Linked DNA regions of Homo sapiens: region 2 is linked to region 1. Evidence: promoter capture Hi-C in 16 types of primary human blood cells and fetal thymus (Javierre and others, 2016). All regions are on one chromosome and are shown on one strand. The core of a region is centred on a gene start or on the middle of the fragment in contact, and the rest is flanking DNA. Distances in the headings are between cores, read along the strand shown.

The links. Contacts are between HindIII fragments. The CHiCAGO score rates a contact against its expected background, and 5 or more counts as called.
Region 2: a fragment that was not itself captured here is called in contact with the fragment with the promoter of PCDHA5 in region 1 in 1 of 17 cell types (monocytes); the score reaches 5.0 in monocytes.

The regions. Positions count from the first base shown.
Region 1 is chr5:140,817,094-140,824,065 of GRCh38, reverse strand. PCDHA5 (protocadherin alpha 5) reads right to left here and starts at 2,453. Exons shown (of 4, transcript NM_018908.3): 1 at 1-2,453. The coding sequence starts at 2,290. All of the region lies in intron 1 of PCDHA1 (protocadherin alpha 1), which reads right to left. All of the region lies in intron 1 of PCDHA2 (protocadherin alpha 2), which reads right to left. All of the region lies in intron 1 of PCDHA3 (protocadherin alpha 3), which reads right to left. It also overlaps PCDHA4 and PCDHA@. The HindIII fragment of the contact is 13,774 bases long and covers 1-5,989 here.
Region 2 is chr5:140,933,073-140,939,985 of GRCh38, reverse strand. All of the region lies in intron 1 of PCDHA1 (protocadherin alpha 1), which reads right to left. All of the region lies in intron 1 of PCDHA2 (protocadherin alpha 2), which reads right to left. All of the region lies in intron 1 of PCDHA3 (protocadherin alpha 3), which reads right to left. All of the region lies in intron 1 of PCDHA4 (protocadherin alpha 4), which reads right to left. It also overlaps PCDHA5, PCDHA6, PCDHA7, PCDHA8, PCDHA9 and PCDHA10, and 5 more genes. Among named protein-coding and RNA genes, the nearest start is that of PCDHAC1, 10 kb to the right of the region's middle. The HindIII fragment of the contact is 499 bases long and covers 3,012-3,510 here.

The DNA of each region.
Region 1 (6,972 bases), core at 1,204-3,703:
GTGGAGCTTCCCCAGAGCACACCCTCTGTCTCCTCTGCTGCGAGTACGACCAGCTCCCCACCGCGCTGGAGCACAACAGAGTGGGCTTGCCCCGTGTGCACACGGCCTCGGTGGGCTGCGCCGAGCACCGCAGCGCGGTGTACAGCAGCAGCGTGAGCACCAGCAGGCTGGACACCGCACAGATGGCGATGATCAGGTACACGTTGACATCCACCAGGGCAGCCTCGGGACCCACAGCGCCCGCCGACGCCCGCGATGAGGCCTTCGGCGCCTGGCCACTTTCCACCAGCGACACCAGCACTGTGGCTGTGGCTGTCAGCGGGGGCTCTCCATGGTCCTTCACCAGCACCAGAAGGCGGTGGCGCGGTGCTTCGGTCTCATCCAGAGAGCGTGTTGTGCTGATCTCGCCTGTGTACAGCCCCACGCGGAACGGGATGCGCGCACTGCCAGGCGCTGGCTGCAGCTCATACGAAAGCCAAGCGTTGTAGCCCGAATCAGGGTCCACTGCGCGCACCTTCGCCACCACGTGGCCCGCACCCACTGACCTCGGCACCAGCTCGCTCACTGCGCCGCCGGTGCCACCCACTCGAGGCACCAGCAGCGCCGGCGCGTTGTCGTTCTCGTCCAGCACGAACACCTGCAGCGTCACGTTGCTGCCCAGAGGCGGCACGCCCGCGTCGCGCGCGCTCACCTGGAACTGCAGCAGCTCCACTTCCTCGTGGTCCAGCGGCTGCAGCGCGTACACCTTGCCGCTCTCCGCGTGCACCGAAACGTAACTCGACAGCGGGCGCTCGCCCACCCGCCGCTCCACCAGCGAGTAGGACACCAGGGCGTTCTCCTGCGCGTCCGCGTCCCGTGCAGACACCGTGAAGATGTGGCAGCCTGGCGGGTTGTTCTCCTTCACGAACACGGTATACTGGGGCTGCGCGAACGCCGGAGCGTTGTCGTTCACGTCGGCCACTTCCACAGACACGCTGGCGGTGGCCCACAGCGAAGGCGAGCCCCCGTCCCGCGCGGTCACCACCAGCTCATAGACCGACACGCTCTCGCGGTCCAGGGCGCTGTCCAGCACCAACGAGTAGTAATTCTTGAAGGTGGACACCAGCTTGAAGGGAACGTGGGGCATTAGGGAGCAGGTCACCTGCCCGTTGGCACCTGAGTCACGGTCAGACACGCTGATCAGAGCAATGACCGTGCTGAGTGGAGCGTCCTCTTTGACAGGCAGGAAAAGGGTGGTTATGGCCATCTCTGGGGTATTATCATTCACATCCAGGAGTTTCACTACTACTTTACAGTGTCCTGATAATGGGAATGTACTTTTATCCATGGCATCAATATTAATTTCATATGAGTTATAGTCTTCATAATCCAGTTCCCCGTTAACTTTTATTTCACCAGTATTAGAATTAATTATAAATTTGGACTTTACATCGTCAAGAACAAGATTACTAAAGAAATACACTATTTCCTTATTGATGCCCTCATCTGCATCTGAGGCGTTCAGTTTAATAACTAATGTCCCACTTGGTGCATTTTCCAACAATCTGACATTATAAATGGATTTATCAAATTCTGGGGCGTTATCATTAGCATCCAATACATTGATCAACAACTGAACTGTACCTGTTAGTTCGGGTTTTCCTCCATCAGTTGCAATCACTAATAAACGGTGTTCTTGTGTTTCTTCTCTATCTAAGGATTTCCTCAAAACCAGCTCTAAAAAGTTCGTTTCTTCTTCATTTGTTTTAACATCTAAGTCAAAATATTCGTTTGGATTTAACCTGTATCTCAATTGTGCATTTGCTCCAATATCCAAATCCGACGCGCCCTCTAGCGGAAACCGCGAATCTGGCATTCTTGACTCTAAAATGAATAATCTTTGTTCTTGTCTGGAGAACCTGGGCGGATTGTCATTGATGTCCTTCACTGCCACCTCCACATGGAAAACCTGCAGCGGCCTGTCCACGATCACCTCCAGGTGGATGCTGCACTCCGCCCTCCGCCGGCACAGCTCCTCCCGGTCGATCCGAGAATTCACAAACAAAATGCCATTCTGCAGATTTACCTCCAGAAGGTCCCCGCGGCCCTTGGACGCCACCCGGAACAGGCGCGGCACCAGCTCCGCCAGCTCCAGCCCTAGGTCCTGCGCGATGCGGCCAACGAAGGTTCCGTGTTTGGCTTCCTCCGGGATCGAGTAGTGGAGCTGGCCGCTCCCTGCCTTCCAGTAGGCAAGGAGAAGCCAGAGCAGCAGGAGCCGGGATCCCAGACTTCCTCTCCGGGAATATACCATCTCAATCTCGTTCCAATTATGAGCTTTCTATTGCATCACCACACAATGTATTTTGTAAATTCAATTCCCAATTAACTATATATTTTTTATATTATCGCCTTTCTGAGCTTCTTGGCACAGCCAAAAATGGAAGGTTCTTTTCCTTTCTGTCTAAGGAAAATCTACTCACTGTATTCCTTTGAGGCTGGGAAGGGAGAAAAACCTTCCGGTGTCCAGCGACATCATGTGGATGAAAGGGTAAGTGTTTTATTTTGTTTTGCTTTATTTAGCTTATATTCGTCAATATTTCTCAAGTATTCTCACTTTCAATGACATGATTCTTATTCTTTAAATCACTTATCTCTAGTCAAAATATATCATTAAACTCTATCTTAAAATGCGTCAATATAAGTGCGTCATTAAAATATTACAGAAAAATACATCTAAAGTCATGAAACCCCAATCCTTACTAGAGAAATTTGTGCTGGTGTATTTTATATAGGGAGGAGTTTATATATTTCCAAACTGATAAAAATAACTTTTAAGAGTTAAAGTTTTGACTTTTCTCATCTCTATTTAAACATATCTAATTAAAACTTTTGAGTTTTTTCTGTATTAGTCAATGGAATGTTTGTATGCTATCTCCGTGTTACTCATAAAACAAATTTTTATTCCAATTTCACTGTTTAATAGTGACATTTTGTTGATGTTATTTTCAAAAACAACTAAAACTATTTTAATGGCATTCTTACCTGAGTTTCTTCTCGGAGTTCTAATTTTCAAATCGATGAAAACCTATTTCTTTATCTATAACACCTATCTACTTTTTGTATTGACTCAAAAACTGTAATGGGGATATTTCAGCTTTCTAGAAATCAAAAGCATAATAGAACGACTTTGGTAAATCGTCTTTGCACTATTTTCAAATTAGAAGCATCTAGATAGCATTTCTTCAAGTTGCTATTACTGATAAAGCAATTATTAAAAATTGTAAAATACATACCTTTGTACTTACATAACAAGTCAAAATCCTAATATTGTCTATATGACATACTATTTCACAAAATGTTTAGGTTCCAGTAAATATAATCATGTTGAAAAGAATATCATTTTATTAACCAGGCTATCTTTATATTAGTTTAATTACTTTTTAATCTCCCAACTGTTTACTGGATGGTATGATTTGAACACGACCTAGAAAATTTAGTAAACTTCACTTAATAAATATGGGCAAAAGAAAATATCACCAAGTTTTCTATTGAAGAAATAGCTAACATTCTGCTTGTATATATACTCCATAAAATTCCTTAAATATTACAAAATATCCCTTACCTGTGAAGACAAGAGGGACCAAGAGATTAGCAATTCTATTGTTGGATACTTTTACATTTAAAATATAGCTTGATAAGAAAAAAGAAATTACCAGAAAATGCAAAGTCAGAGGAAATTCACTTGATTTCTGGAATTCAAACTTGTAAAGAAACAAGATATTGTCATAGAATTGTTTCTGATACAATCTTTAAAGATATATTTACCAGTTCCCTTATAAGATTTTTACTATCTCTATTATCATGACTTTTCACTAATATTTGGATCGTTGAAACACAAATCAATTTCCCAGACTATTTGCCTAATAGTTTTCATACTGATAATTTTGAAATATTTTAATACACAATGGTTAAAAACATAAGAAAATGATAATAAATATTTAGAAAACAGCATTAGCTGATGTTAGCCACTTTCTATTATATAACAGTAAATAATGTAAAACTACAAAGCTATGGAATAAATTATAGTAGAATTTTATACAAAATACACAAAGATAACCTTTGAAAAAAGTAAATATTAAGTATTTAAAAGGCAAATTAACAATGTAGTATTAACAATGTGTACATTGTAATCTGCAGAGTATTATGATAAATACTGAGTATTTTAAAAGATATACTCAATGGAGAAAAAGTCATCAACAATATCAGTTCACATGCTCCTCTCAGTCTGGAAAAAATATCTCATGTACTTATATAGATATTTCAGGAGGAAACAAGACTCTTGACTTTTGATTCACTTTCATATCTGTTAAATTATATTTACTTTTTAAATTATCACTTGCATTTGTGCTACAGTGATCAACTCTTATTTTGAATATTCCTTTCTCAGTAACTATAGATTATCCAATCTGAATTTCATGGGAGACTCCACAGGAAAAGAACATTTTAAAAAATCTTCTTCTAAGCTATTTTCTTCAATCAAATGTTACAGATTATTTTCTTGACTGATCCAGTTAACCTCTCCTTTAGATATTTCAGTCATGTTTAAGCATCATTGTGTAAACAGAAGTTCTTCCTTGAGAAAAAAATTTAGATTTAAAACTGTGTAGTATATTAAAGTGTCTCCATTTAATTCACTAAAAGCCTTTAGAAATATACTAACACAAGAAAATTTAATCTTCATAAGGGTACAAATGTCCTTTATTCCTTACAAAACCCAGAATAAAATTTTAATAAGCTATATTTTTCTTCTCTTATCTATAGAAATTATATAGATATACCAGATTGCAGAGAAGAGGAAATGTTGAAGCAATTGTATAAAAATGTATAAATAATTTATGCACATATGTCATTTGATTCTTCAAAAATTAATTCTGTATAAAAATTAATTTATTCTATTATAAGGATAGTAAGAAAGGATACCATGAGCATATAATACACATCTTAGCGCTGCCTGTATAATGAGTCACAGAGGAAGGTATAACTGCCCTATAAGGGAATGTGCTAAAATATCCATATTATATATCCTCTGTGGATAGAAAATATGAGAATAGTTCTAACATATCCCTGAGATAGTGAATATCAATGTTCATGTCAAATAATCTCACTTAATAGAAAGGGACAATGAAGCTAAATTCAAGAGATGCAATCTCAGGCATCTTTTTTATGCCTCTACCTATAGTTGATTCTATACAACTGGGTGACAAAGAGTCTCACTCTGACCGAGGCTGGAGTGCAGTGGTACAGTCAAAGTTCATTGCAGCCTCAGGCTCAAGCCATCCTCCAACTTCAGCCTCCCAAGTAGCTGGGACCACAGGTGTGCACCACCACATCTAGCTAATTTTTTTCATTTTTTGTAAAGATGGAGTCTCCCTATATTGCTCAGGCTCATCTTGAACTCCTGGGCTCAAGCAATCCTCCTGTCATGGCCCACACAGGTGTTGGGATTATAGGCATGAGCCACCATGCCTGGCCTGATTCATTATTAAATGGAGAAAAATGATAATCTCTCAGGTTATATCTGATTTTAAAATCCAAGATCAAGTGAGTGAAAACTTTGTGGGAGGAAAGTTTCTTTTGACATTAGCCAGTACCCAAGTTAGAAATATATTTTTAAAAAGGAAAATAAAATTCTAAAATGGAAAAATGCCACGATTCAAGTTAAGAATTCAATCAATGACTTTGACAGTGGCCTAGAATAACAAGATAAAATTCCTAAAGTAAAAGATGGGTCAGAATAAAACATGGATTATGAAACAAAGAGAAAAAGTGATTTAAAAACAGAAATGGCACATAAAAGACAAGGAATATGGTGAAAAGATTTAACATACATGTACTTATAGTCACAGAAGAATATAAGAGAAAATATGAAGTAGAAGCCGTATTTGAAGGCATACTGCTAAATCTTCTCTTAAACTGATAAAATATTATCAACCCACAGATATAAGAAGCTTTGAAAACTGCAAGCGAGATTAAAAACAAAGCAAATTAACACTGGGCACATGATAGTAAAGCTGTTAAAAGTGAAAAACAGAGTAAGTATACAAAGTAGCTAGACAGAAAAAAAGACACACTAATTGAACAATAAACTTGACAGCCATCATCTCAAAAGAAGACCATGGAATGTCATCTTAAAAGTGCTGGCAAAAATAACTTTCATTCAATACCCAAAACTGTTTCTCAAAAGTGATAGTAAAATTAAGACATTTCCAGATATATAAAAACGTAAAGGTTTCTTTACCAGCAGGCCACACTAAAGGAAATGTTAATTTCTTCAGAAGGAAAATGATCCCAGAAAGAAACATATATAGGTGTTAACAAAACAATGATAATAATGTACTGTGTGTCTAGAACATATAAATAATTGAAAGGCATATCAGTAACAAAAAGTAGGGTACAAGTAAATGGTATAATGATTCAAGGTCTTAGCGTTGCCTGGAATTATTAAAATTATTGATTTAATTGAGGTAATAAGTCAAGGATGTGTGTTATAATCAACAAAAGAGGAAATCAATAAAATAATTTGTAAAAGCATATATAGCTTAAAAAGATAACAGAGGTAGTGACATCAGCAAGATGCTGTTATAGGAATCCCCAGACCCTCCACAGGTATACCAACTCAACAACAATACAAGGACCAATTCCCATGGTGATAAGTGCCGAAACCAGTTAAGAGGGTCCTGGGCTCCAAGCAAGTGTAAAACTAGCTGGGCACTTTTCTGGGGCACTTTCCCTATAGTCCCATCCAGCAGCACAGTTCCATTCAAACAGGGGGAAATTCCCAGCTCCTGTCTTCTCCCTGAGAAGGGAAAGAGAAAGTAAAGCATGCATTCAGTGTTCTGACTTTTCAGGGGAGCTGTCTTGCATATCTCAGAGCACTGATGGAACCTGGCATATTCTAAAATCCTGAGGGCAGCTCAGAATAATAAAGAGCTG
Region 2 (6,913 bases), core at 2,012-4,511, 120 kb before region 1:
AACAATTCACTATTCATCGTGGAACACTTTAACATAATTTTCTCAGTAACTGATAAAATAAGCAAACAAAAAGAATAAAAAAGAATGCAGAATATTTGAACAACACAACTAGCAAAGATGACCTAATGGACATATACAGAACACAACAACAAGCAATGTCAGAATACTGCTTTTTCTTGAACATGCAGAACATTTATAGAAATTGACCATTCACACCCTGAAATACTATATAATGACAATGAATGATACACAGCTACACACAACAATATAAATGTATCTCACAAATGATAATGTCCAGCAACACACACATACATACAAGTTGGTTATTCCTGTTATTGAAGTTTTCAGTACCCTTATTGATTTTCTTTTGTCTCCTTGTTCTGTTTTTGAGCAAGGTATGTTAAAATTTTCCATTTTGATTAACCAAACTAATACAACAAGAAATAGAGGCTCTGTATAATTCTATAACTATTAATGTTATAGACATTGAATTTATAATTAACATTCTCATGAAGAGAATTCTAGGCCTATAAATTTCACTCTTAATTCTTCAAATGCTTATGGAAGAAAAAAATGCTGATTTACACAAACTTGCTATGATCTGAATGTTTGTGTTCCCTCCTCCTTTGCAATCATAAGTTGAAATGCTAACCCCTAAGATTATGATATTAGGAGGTAGGGCTTTTGTAGAGATGATTAGATCACGAGGGCACAGCTCTCATAAAAGAGGTTCCAGAGAGCTACCTTGCTCCTTCCAGAAGGTGAAGAGACAGCAAGAAGGTGACATTCTGTTTTATGAACCAGGGAGTGGGCCATTACCAGACACAAATCTGCCAGGACCTTGATCATCAACTTTCCAGCTTCCAGAATTGTGAAAAATAAATTTCTATTGTTTTTAAGCCACCCAGTTTATGCTATTTTGATATAGCAGCCCAAATGGACTAAGACAACTCTTCCGAATAAGTAAAAGAAAAGTAACACTTCTTAACTTACTATATAAAGCCAGGATAGCCTTGATGCCAAACTCCGACTAGAGCATTATAAGAATGGAAAGTTAAAAGCCAATTTCTTGTGCGTGTGTGTGTGTGCGCATCTGTGTGTGTGTGTGTTGCTTCTTAACTTTTAAGTTCAGGGGTACATGGGCAGGTTTGTTATAACGCAAACTCATGTCACAGGGGTTTGTGGTACCGATTATTTCATCATTCAGGTACTAAGTCTAGTACCCAATAACTATGCCTTTAAAAATAATTATTTTTTTCTGTAGAAACGCGTTTCTATCATAAACATATATTTAAAAACTGTAAAGAAAATGTTAGGAAACTAAGTCTAATGATATAAAGAAGGATTATACATCATAAGCAACCTGAGTTTATTCCAAGAATGCAAGATTGGTTTATCATTAACAAATCAACCAATATAATGCATGCTATTAATAAAAGGATAAAAATCCATATTATCCATTCAATAACAGAAAATATGTGATAAATTCAATGCCTATTCATGATTTTTAAAAAACATAATAAATTAAAAAACAAAGGGAACTTAATAAATCTGATAAAGGATTTTTGCAAATAAACCCAATCAAACAATGTATTTCATATTAAATATTTAAAAACTTCCTCTCTGAGACCAGGAATAAGACAAGATTATCCATTAACATTACTTCTATTCAATTTTATACTGAATTTCATAGGCAATGACAGAAAGCAAGAAAACTATGTGATTAGAAAGTTTTTAAAAGACCAGGCATGGTGGCCTATGCCTGTAATCCCAGCACTTTGGGAGGCTGGCGTGGGAGGATTGCTTGAGCCCAGGAGCTCCAGACTAGCCTGGGCAATGTAGTGAGACTCTATCTCTATTTTTTTAAAAAAAGAGAGAAAGTAAAAAATACAATAATAAAACTAACATTATTTGGGAATAGCATGACAGTATATGTAGAAAACCCAAAATATAAAAATATGAGATTTTACTATTTAGCAAGAACATTGGATACAAAGTTAACATAAAATCAGTATTATTTCTATATACTTTCAACAAAAGCCAATTATCAAATTAAACTTTTTTTTTTTTTTTTGAGACGGAGTCTCACTCTGTCGCCCAGGCTGGAGTGCAGTGGCGCGATCTCGGCTCACTCCAAGTTCCGCCTTCCAGGTTCATGCCATTCTCCTGCCTCAGCTTCCCGAGTAGCTGGGACTACATACGCCCGCCACCACGCCCGACTAATTTTTTGTATTTTTAGTAGAGACGGGGTTTCACCGTGTTAGCCAGGATGGTCTTGATCTCCTGACCTCGTGATCCGCCTGCCTCAGCCTCCCAAAGTGCTGGGATTACAGGCGTGAGCCACCATGCCCTGCCTTTCTTTTTCTTTTTAGATGGAGTATCACTCTGTTGCCCAGGCTAGAGTGCAGTGACGCGATCCCAGCTCACTGCAACCTCTGCCTCGCAGGTTCAAGCAATTCTCCTGCCTCAGCCTCCTGAGTAGCTGGGATTACGGGTATGTGCCAACATGTCCAGCTAATTTTTGTATTATAAAATTAAACTTTTAAAATAGCATTAAAATATCAGCTATCTAATAAAAGTTGTGCAATACCCCTATATACACATACACACACATAAACATTAAGATAAAATAATAAAATAAATGGAAGAAGCCGGGCGCGGTGGCTCACGCCTGTAATCCCAGCACTTTGGGAGGCCGAAGCGGGTGAATCACGAGGTCAGGAGATCGAGACCATCCTGGCTAACACGGTGAAACCCCGTCTCTACAAAAAATACAAAAAATTAGCCGGGCATGGTGGCGGGCGCCTGTAGTCCCAGCTACTCGGGAGGCTGAGGCAGGAGAATGGCATGAACCCGGGAGGCGGAGCTTGCAGTGAGCCGAGACTGCGCCACTGCACTCCAGCCTGGGCGACAGAGCGAGACTCCGTCTCAAAAAAAAAAAAAAAAGATAAATGGAAGAATATACCTTGTTAATCGGTTGTCTGTCTCAATATTGTCAATGTTAACAAGCTTCATATTTTTATAGATTCAATAAAGATCAAAATAAGATATTTTCAATATACCCCATATTTTCTACAGATTCAATATAGTGCCAATTAAAATCAAAGCAGGGTTTTTTAAAATAGAAACTGAGAAGCTGAATCTACAATTTATATAGAAATGCAAAGGGCCAAAAATAGCTAAGTTAATCTTGAAGCAGAATAACAAAGTGAGAGAACTTACACAATTAGATATCAATACAAATGAAAAGTTACTATATTTAACACAGAATGTATTGGCACAAGAATAGACAAGTTGACCAATGAAACAGAATAGACAGTCCAGAAACAGAATATATAAAGTCACGTTGCTTATGACAAAGGTAGCACTGCACAGTAGCAGCGAGGAAAGTAGGCAATCTAACTGGATTTACAAGTGGAAAATATAAATCTTGACTTCTACATTGCACTATATTCAAAAGCAATTTCAGGTAATTTAAGATCTAAATGTGCAAGTTAAAACAAGAAAGCTTCCAGAACTACAGCAACCACTAAACAGATGTGGTTATTTAAGCTTAAATTAATTAAAATTAGTAACATTAAAAATTGAGTAGCCCAGTTTCACTAGCCACATTTCAAGTGCTCAGTAGCTACACATTCCATATATGCAGATAGAGAAAATTTATAGCATGTCAGAAAGTTCTATTGGATAGCAATGTTATAGAAGAAAACACAGGAATATATCTTCATGACTTGAAGCAGGATATGTTTTCTTTAAAAGGATAGAAAGAATACTAAATAAAAAAGACAACTTTGGCTGGGCGTGGTGGTTTAGGCCTCTAATCCCAGCACTTTAGGAGGCCAAGGCGGGCAGATCACTTAAGGTCAGGAGTTCGAGACCAGCCTGGCCAACATGGTGAAACCCTGTCTCTACTAAAAGTATAAAAATTAGCCGGGTGTGGTGGTGGGTGCCTGTAATCCCCGCTACTCGGGAGGCTGAGGTGGGAGAATCGCTTGAACCCGGGAGGCAGAGATTGCAGTGAGCCAAGATTGTACCACTTTACTCCAGCCTGGGCAACAGAATGAGAATCTGTCTCAAAAAAAAAAAAAAAAGATAATATTGATAAATTGGAGCTCATTAATTGCTAATCAAAAGACACCATTAAGCAGTATGGAATATGTGTAAATACTATACTACTATGAAATAATCTCGTTTATATTTTTAAGTGAAAAAACTCAAAGTGGGGAAGAATGTGTATTGTATGGAATAATAGATACTAGACTTCTCTAAATATATTTTGTTTTATAAGTTTATTTTGGAGCCATGTAAATATTTCACATAATTATAAAAGAAAATTAAAATTTAAAAAGCAAGCCCTAAATTTGAAAGCGACTTGAAAAAAGCCTAGCTCTGTATCTAGCTGGTGGCTTAACTACACAGAGAGGAACTTTTCCAAGATACTTTAAAACACAATAATTTGACTGTACATGCCTACTGGGCATTTGTAAGGATGTGCCTTATAAATGAAAAGAATGACAAAAACTTAAACTGCTACAGTATCATATTATTTCTGTAGTGCTGAAATTGTTTTCTAAGTCCATTGTTTGAGTCCCGTGGGATAACAAATGAGTAATTCTGTTGACGTTAATGAAAACTGGGATTTGACGTATGGGAGAAATAGGAATGTAAGATTGATGAAGTTAAGTAAAAACCTCGGAGTGCTGAACTTTATTAGATTAGTATAAACATGTGATGTATTTTATCTTTTAAAAAATAGACATCCCTTAGCTCAGTAGCTGAAGATACCTAGAAACAGCAACTGACCCAGCAGCAATAAGCACACCTGTTGTTGAGATTATATCTCTAAGTATCATCTTTCACTAAAAATAAGTGAAAGCTCTTTGAAAAATGGCTGATTCTGGGAAAGGAAATGTACAAGATAATCTGAACATCTTGTAATACCAGAAATCAAGGAAGCATTCAAAAGACTATTAAGACTCACATGAAAAGGATTCAGGGTGTTATCACTGGGGAAAAGTGGGTGACAAGCACATGGGATCTCTCTATACTAGTTTTGTAACTTTATGTGAATCCATAATTATTCCAAAATAAAAGGTTTAAAACAAGATACACAAACACACTCACAAAGACTCAGGAGCAAAGCTGAACAGTTCCCAACTTGCCAAAGTTAGCATAATTTGATCATTAAAAAGATAATTGACATGGATTGGGCCATATCAAATATGTTTAAGTCAATGAGTTCATAATGACACCTAAAAAAGGCCTTGGTCCTTTTTGTAAGATGGCCAGGAATCAATTCATTGTTTTGAATACTGCTAAACAAAGGGGAAGAATCAAACATTTATCCTGCCTTTCCTGTGTGAACTGTACCTCAGGCTAATCAAATAGTTGAAGACCCATTACAGAAATGTTACAATTAATTAAAAAAAAGAAGAAATGATAGAATTAGAACGGTAGCTCTCGAAGTGTGGTCTATGGACCCTTTGGGTGTTTATGAGGTGAATATAATTTTCAAAATAATGTTAAAACATTATTTGCATTTTTCACTATATTTACACTTGCATTGATAATGCAAAAGCATTGGTGGGTAAAGCTGGCCACCATAGAACCACAGAAGGAGTCAAAGCAGTGGCTCCACACTGTACTGGTGGTTATTACATTCATGATTGGACATTTGCAGTAAGAAAAATACCAGTAAGAATGCCCTTGATGAAGCACTGATTATTATTAATTTTGATAAATCTCCACAATTAAGTACAAATCTTTTAAACATTTTGTGTGAGGAAATAGAAATGAAAAGTATGTTTAGAGTACTTCTGTTGCACACTGAAATATAAACATATAAGGAAGGAAATAAATTAATAAAGTATGAAAATTAATAAAATAGAAAGCAAACATACAACAAAGCGAACCCAAAACACCAAAAGTTAGCCTTGGAAAGACTAATATCATTAATAAACTACTTCCAAGTCTAGTCAAGAAAAATGAGAGGTGACACTAACACCAGGATTGAAAAGGGAAACATCACTACAGATCCTGCAGATGTGAAAAAAAGTCACAACAGGACATTATAAACAACTTTATGCCAAAATATTCAAAAGTACAGATAAAACTAACATATATCTGAAAAAATTAAAGGTACAGGAATGAAATAGGAGCAATAAAAATACAAAGAAATTTGATCTCAATTAAAATTTTCCTACAAAGAAAACTGTAGGTACAGAGAGCTTCACTAGTGAATTCTACCAAATATTTAAGAAAGCTGTATCACCAATCTCAGTAAATGTGTCCGAGGAATAGGAAAAAAAATGTGAGAGAGACAGAGAGAGAGACAGGATTTCCAACTTGTTTAACAGGGCCAGCCTAACCTAATAAGAAAAGAAAAAGACAAATCAACCTAAAAACCCACTATTAAGACTTCTTAATTGGTTTTTATTTTATATTAACATTATTTTGAGTTTAAACAAAACAGCTGTAGTCTTTGCTTAACAATTCTAAAGAATAACCATAATGTGTTTGAATTCAGAGTATATTTTGAAGGTATGTCATTAGAGTGCCCCTATGAACACAGAATATCTGTAGATGGTAACCAGATGGCTCTAGGAACAGCCAAGGAATTTGGGATGGGTTAGAAATAAAGTGTTTATCTTTCTCTACAGCACAGGAGAATACGAGATTGCATATTTATTTCCAGATTCCAAAACAAGTTCCAAATGAATATATAATAACCTTTTGTGTTTATAGTCCTTTCTTTTTCATAAATGCAATATAACAGACATGTAATTTATTTATATCCTGAACCATTATCTTATGCCATCAATTAAAATTGGGAACAAAATGAGTGGCTATCTACCTTTATTATTTAGCTTTGTTTCTTAAGAACAACCTTTACCAACAAATTCCTTACTTCCCA